2 separate regions of the Homo sapiens genome follow, and region 2 is linked to region 1. Evidence: promoter capture Hi-C in human tissues and cell types (Jung and others, 2019). All regions are on one chromosome and are shown on one strand. Each heading gives the region's core, a stretch centred on a gene start or on the middle of the fragment in contact. The rest is flanking DNA. Distances are from core to core; before and after follow the strand shown.

The links. Contacts are between HindIII fragments. The study calls those that stand out against the background at their distance.
Region 2: a contact is called between a fragment that was not itself captured here and the fragment with the promoter of GPR89B in region 1, in 1 of the 25 tissues and cell types used here (hippocampus).

The regions. Positions count from the first base shown.
Region 1 is chr1:147,927,170-147,930,523 of GRCh38, forward strand. GPR89B (G protein-coupled receptor 89B) reads left to right here and starts at 1,251. Exons shown (of 14, transcript NM_016334.5): 1 at 1,251-1,409. The coding sequence starts at 1,368. LOC105371229 (a long non-coding RNA gene) reads right to left here and starts at 1,149. Exons shown (of 3, transcript XR_922074.4): 1 at 1-1,149. The HindIII fragment of the contact is 5,422 bases long and covers 1-2,759 here.
Region 2 is chr1:147,688,552-147,691,695 of GRCh38, forward strand. It overlaps the pseudogene RN7SL261P. Among named protein-coding and RNA genes, the nearest start is that of ACP6, 20 kb to the left of the region's middle. The HindIII fragment of the contact is 4,430 bases long and covers 1-3,144 here.

The sequences.
Region 1 (3,354 bases), core at 1-2,500:
GGCTGGAGCCAGTTTGCAGGACTATGAGACTATATAGACTACAAAGCCTAGCTAGGCCCCAGGTCGGCGGCAGAGTAAGCCCCACAGCAATGCGTTAAGCCTTCATGAAATGAGTGTTGAATGAATGAGGTAGTGATTCAGTGTATATTTGATCCACTGCAACAGGTGGGAAGGGGGCAGAGGCAGCTACTTCCTAAAATAACCCTTCTTCAGACTCTTAAAGAACTGATCCTTGTTTTGAATTAAAATCTATCTTCAATTAACTTCCAGTCCTTTGCCCTACAGATAATTCGTAGTGCCACATCAGTTCTACCCATTCTTTCACATGAAGACAGATGTCATGTTCTGAGTCATCTTTCTTCGCCTCCTTCCAGCAGCCCTTATCTGGTGGCTCACATTTGAGCGAGCTCCAATATGTCTCTGTAGAATCTCTCTCTTCTTTTTTCTTTTCTTTTTTTTTTTTTGAGATGGAGTTTCGCTCTTGTTGCCCAGGCTGGAGTGCAATGGCGCGATCTCGGCTCACCGCAACCTCCCCTCCCGGGTTCAAGCGATTCTCCTGCCTCAGCCTCCCTAGTAGTTGGGATTACAGGCATGCACCACCACGCCCGGCTAATTTTGTATTTTTAGTAGAGACAGGGTTTCTCCATGCTTGTCAGGCTGGTTTTGAACTTGCGACCTCAGGTGATCCGCCCGCCTTGGTCTCCCCAGGTGCTGGGATTACAGGTGTGAGCCGGCCCGGCCTGTAAAATCTCTTCAAAGTGTGGTACATGGAGTGCAGTACTCCACCTGTGGCCTGACTGATATGCAGTACAATATTATCACTAAATTGCTACAGACAGTGTGCTTTTCATTGTTGTCACAGAAATGTATTTGGTTAGTTATATTTGTTCATATCTCATCTGACTTTCCAGTCTTCCCTCACTTTGTACAGTCATATTTGCCGAGTCAAGTAAAAGTTATAACATTTAGGACACAATGCCCGACTTACTATAATTACCATTATTATCTTAGGATCATTACAAAACAGAATTACCACTTAGCTCTCAGGCCCTACCTCCTTCAGCCTCAGAAACGTTAACGCTACCTTGCATTGCTGCTTTTAGCACCGCCCCTAATAAGCCCCGCCCCTGGGGCTTCCGCGGCGGAAGCCTAGCGTCCGCCCCACCCACCCCGAGCCCGAGGCGGGGCTGTGGATGTAGCCGCTGATTGGCTGACTGGGGCGCAGCTTGACGGCGTCGGGCTGGAGAGCCGCAGTCCCGGCTGCAGCACCTGGGAGAAGGCAGACCGTGTGAGGGGGCCTGTGGCCCCAGCGTGCTGTGGCCTCCGGGAGTGGGAAGTGGAGGCAGGAGCCTTCCTTACACTTCGCCATGAGTTTCCTGATCGACTCCAGCATCATGATTACCTCCCAGGTGAGTCACCGCCTCCCGCCCCGACACCCGTCCGCCTCCCTTCACCGAATCGCCCTCTCCGGTCCTCCGCGGTGCGGGCTGGTCCGGGGTCTCGCTCCTCTCTTACGCGGCCTGCGCCAGTCACTCTGGCACACAGAGAGGGTGTGCGATTTGCTGCGGCCGGTTCCCTCAGCCCCGGCTGTCAGGAGGCTGGCCTGCGGCCGTCCGCGTCCCCACCCGGCATCCATCCCCGGAATTTCGGTCCACTTTTGGAAGCGGTCCGCCGACCTCCAGGCTAAGAGCCGGCGCCGCCAGCTAAGGCGGCGGTTCTAGGAGCTCCTCGAAGCTTCCGGGCTGCGCCAACTGATCCTGGACTGGGGAAGCCTGTGTGGTTCTGGGCGCGCGGTGTGCGACGCGCCAATACTGGATACTGAGGACACGTCAGTGCAGGCTTTGCTGTTAGATGTCAAATCCTGAATCCGGGTGTGGAGAAATTTGCTGCTTCAAAGTATCAGTATAAGGTAATACCTATGCTTGAAAGTATAAGGTTTCGTTTTTGCACTGACACCTCGTCCTTTATCCTCTGCTTAGTTACCCACCTTTTCCGGATGTTTTTCTGACCCTCATTTCTTCTCCATTGGCCACCTTCATTTGTTTGTACAGTCAACAAACATTTATCGACCATTATATAAAGCTCTGAGCGTAAAAACATGTAAGACACTGTCTCTGCTCAATAGAAGTTTCGTCTAGTTAGCCTCTTGCTTTTACCATGTAATCTATTGTTAATTATTGTTTCTTCCTAGCATTCATCATAGCACTGGCATCATTTATGTCTGTGTTTCTGATTTTGTTTTTTGAGATCCTGCCTTGTTCATAGCTGTATCCCCACTTCCAAATGCAGGCATTCAATAAATAATTGTTGGCCAATATTTGTGAAGCTCAGACTGCCTGTTGACCTTCTTCCCCTCATCTTTCCAATAAAGATTTTGTGTGTGTGTGTTTGTTTTTGCTTGTTCTTTCTCTCAAACGGCAAATAACAGAAACAGTTACCTTTGGGGGCTTAAAGTGAACTAAATTTGTGTTCTTTGATTCAGTTTTTGTATTGCTTCATCCTAATACTCGTCTCCGTAGAGCGGAGCATTGTCCTTTTCTCTTCAAAAACTTGTTTACAATATTTAAGAAAATAAGAAAGAAGGAAAAGCCATCCATAATCCTACCGCTCTAATGCAATAGTTTTTCATTTTTAAAATTTACCACCTTTTCTATAGTTTTCATAAGTATTGTTTTTATTGGCTGCATAGTATTCAAATGTATTAATGTAAAAAAACCTAGACATGTAACTCTTCTGCTTAAAACCTTTCTAAGACTACCCAGTGCCCTTGGTGACAACTCAGGATTATTTTTAGCCTTAGTACCAATTTAAGAAAAATAACAATATTTAATTAGCTTTTCTTTTCACTTAGAATAAAGATAAGAATGTCAGTAGAAAATTGGCTTTGCATTGCAGCCTCTACGATTTTTAGCATGGATATAATTGATACGTTGAACCAAGGAAGTGGCTTTCTAATTTTGTATGCCTTATAATCATAGACTTTCACTTCACACATGTATCCATATGCAGTAATTAATTGTTAAACCTGGTTTTTACAAATGTGGAAGAAAGACCCAAAGATTCCTTTGCATGGAATGTTCTCTGTTCAGATATTTATGTGGCTACTTTATCATCCTTTCGGTATTAATAAAAATGTCGCTTTAGGAAGGTTTTACCTGACACCCTGCCCACAACCAAAGTAGCTTTCCATTTCGGCTGCCTTCTTCCTCATTTCCATGTTTTATTATCTTCTTGGCATTTATTACTATGGTTCATTTGTATATTCATGTGTTTGTTATCTGTCCATGAAGTCCAAGATACTGTCTGTCTTGTTCTCTCCTGTATTCACCAGCATCTAGATCAGTTGCAGGCACA
Region 2 (3,144 bases), core at 123-2,622, 240 kb before region 1:
CTGTAGTCCCAGCTACTCGGGAGACTGAAGCAGAAGAATCCCTTGAACCCAGGAGGCAGAGGTTGCAGTGAGCCAAGATCACACCACTGCACTCCAGCCTGGGTGACAGACCGAGACCTCGTCTCAAAACAAAAAACAAAAAACAAAAAACAAAAACCACTAATCACCAGGGAAACGCAAATCAAAACCACAATGAGATATATCACACTTGTTAGAATGACTACTATCAAAAAAGATGAAAGATAAGTGTTGAGGATGTGAAGAAAAGGAAACCCTTGTACACTGTTGGTGGGCATGTAAATTGGTACAGCCATTACAGAAAGCAGTATGAAGCTTCCTCAAAAAATTAAAAATTGGACTACAGTACCATATGATCCTGCAATCCCACTCCTGGGTCTATATCCAAAAGAAATAAAATCTGTATGTTGAAGGGACACCTACAATCCCATGTTCACTGTAGCATTATTCACAATGTTCAAGATATGGAACAACCTAAGTGTCCATCAAAGGATGACTGGATAAAGAAAATGTGTTATATGTACATAATGGAATACTAATCAGCCTTAGAAAATAAAAAAAATCCTCTCATTTATGACAACATGGATGAACTTGGAGGACATTTTGTTAAGTGAAATAAGTCAGGCACAGAATGACAAATACCACATAATCTCGTATGTGGAGTATTTAAAAACTCAAACTTAGCCAGTGGTTAAGTGGCACATGCCTGTAGTCCATCTACTCCAGGGGCTGAGGCAGGATGATTGCTTAAGTCCAGGAGTTCTGGGCTGTAGTGTGCTATGCCAATAGGGTGTCTGCACTAAGTTCAGCATCAGTAGTAGGTGACCTTTTTGAGAGCAGGGGACCGCTAGGTTTTCTAAGGAGGGGTGAACCAGCCCAGGTCAGAAATGGAGCAGGTCAAATATCCCATGCTTATCAGTGGTAGGATAAGCACTCCAGCCTGGGCAACATAGTGAGACCCCATCTCTTTAAAAAAAAAAAACAAAAACCTCAAACTTAACAGAAATAAGGAATAAAGTGGTACTTACCAGAGGCTGAGGGATGGGAGGATTGGGGAGATATTAGTCAAATGACACAAAATTTCAGGTAGACAGGAGGAGTAAGTTCAGAAGATATATTGTTCACTTTGTTGACTATAGTTAATGACAATATATTATATATTTGAAAATTGCTGAGAGTAGATTTTAAATATTCTCACCATAAAAAAAGTATCTTAGATTATAGATATTTAGATGATGGTTAATTAGCTTGATTTATCCATTTCACAATGTATACACATATTAAAACATCATGTTGTTGTATACCACAAATACATACAATTTTTACTGGTCAATTAAAGTAAAGAAATAAATAATTACAAGTATTGAATACTTAGTTTTACTGATCTCAAGTACTGAAAATATGTCAATACAAAACATACTGAAATACCAAAATACACTGAAATTATACTCCAGTATTTAAATGACCCTTCAGTTTGGTACTGGAGGCCCTTTAAATCAGCTTCCCGTCTACATTTTCCACTATTTCCATCCCAGAGATAGATGTTTTTCTCTATGTGTCCTTTTCCAAATAGACCTTGGATCTGGCTACCTCGATTCCTTTTATCAAGACCCATTTTCCTATTTCTATCTGTAATGTTTATATGAAACAAACACAACTGGTAGAATGGAATCTTAAAGCAAATTCATTTTTGACTGTCTCTTTACATCTCCACTGAGGGGCTGTTCTCCTTGACCCTAGGAAAAAACAGAGGTTGCCCCTCAGAGATATTAAAGGTACTCAGCCATTTTTAAAGTCACAAAACATGGTGGAAATCAGGAATTAAAATGGCAGTCATAGGTAAGAATGATAATTCTTAACCTTGAAGTTTCTCCTCCTCTCCTCCAGTTTGTACTGGCCACAGGCTAGAAGTCTGAAATTTGAAAGTGGGTTAGGGGATAATCTCATGATTCTTCTCCTTTTACCATCTTTCTAAAGCTGATTCTGACCACTCTAGGATCTGGAGCTTAGGAAGGGAGATCAATGAAGGAGTACTAGCAAAGTTCTTAGTTGACTGGTGCTGTGCAGGTGATCAAGTTGGTGCTCTCTGGCCTTTGCAGATGTTTAAAGCTGATTGCTCTTTTAAGGGATTTTCATGGGTTGCTCTGAGACTCTTCCTTTTCCCCACCTTTCTGCAGCCTTAGGTATCCAGCAGCAGTTCATCTCCAGCTTTCCTGTATTGAGGCTCCTCACTCCTGCAGGAGGTCATTATAAACACGGGCTAAGCAACACCACACAACTCCCTTTCCCTCATGGGCCACATCTGGTCCATAGGAAACATGTTTGTCCAGGAAAACTCTGGGAATGCAGCCCCTTCCCCATAACTCAGCACTCTGGATTTAGATTTCTCAAGCATGAACCAGTCAGAAGTCCCCTGTGTCCCTCAAACTTTAGAAGACACATATTAAGCTCCACGGATGGTTCCATAAAAGTTCTGTCCTTTGGTTTGATTTAAGGAGCAGATATCCCTCCTTCCCACCCCCACCCTCTTTCTCCCCCTTTCTCCTCTCCTCTCCTGTCCTTTCCTCTCTTCTTCTCTCCCCTTTTTCCCCCATAATGAGAAGGATAGAATTCTTGGAACCCAATACTTCCCTCCAAAGAAATCCTTTTCAAAAGTCTTCCTGATCTCCAATTCAGCATCCCTTTACGCCATCAGTGTGGGTAATCATTTAAGAGTTACCAACCCAGGGCTAGGCACGGTGGCTCACGCCTGTAATCCCAGCACTTTGGGGGGTCGAGGCTGGCAGATCATGGGGTCAAGAGATCGAGACCATCCTGGCCAACATGGTGAAACCCCGTCTCTACTGAAAATACAAAAATTAGCCAGGTGTGGTGGCACGCGCCTGTAGTCTCAGCTACTTGGAAGCTGAGGCAGGAGAATCGCTTGAACCCAGGAGAAGGAGGTTGCATGGAGCTGAGACCACGCCACTACACTCCAGTCTGATGACAGAGAGAGACTCCATCTCAAAGAAAAAAATAATAAAAAAAGAGTTACCAACCCTTCCACCCCTTTTTACCACCTACTTTGAAAGTGTTTGCATTTTGGTCCAACACATAGCTCTAGAATGTGCCTTAGCTGAAGCTTTC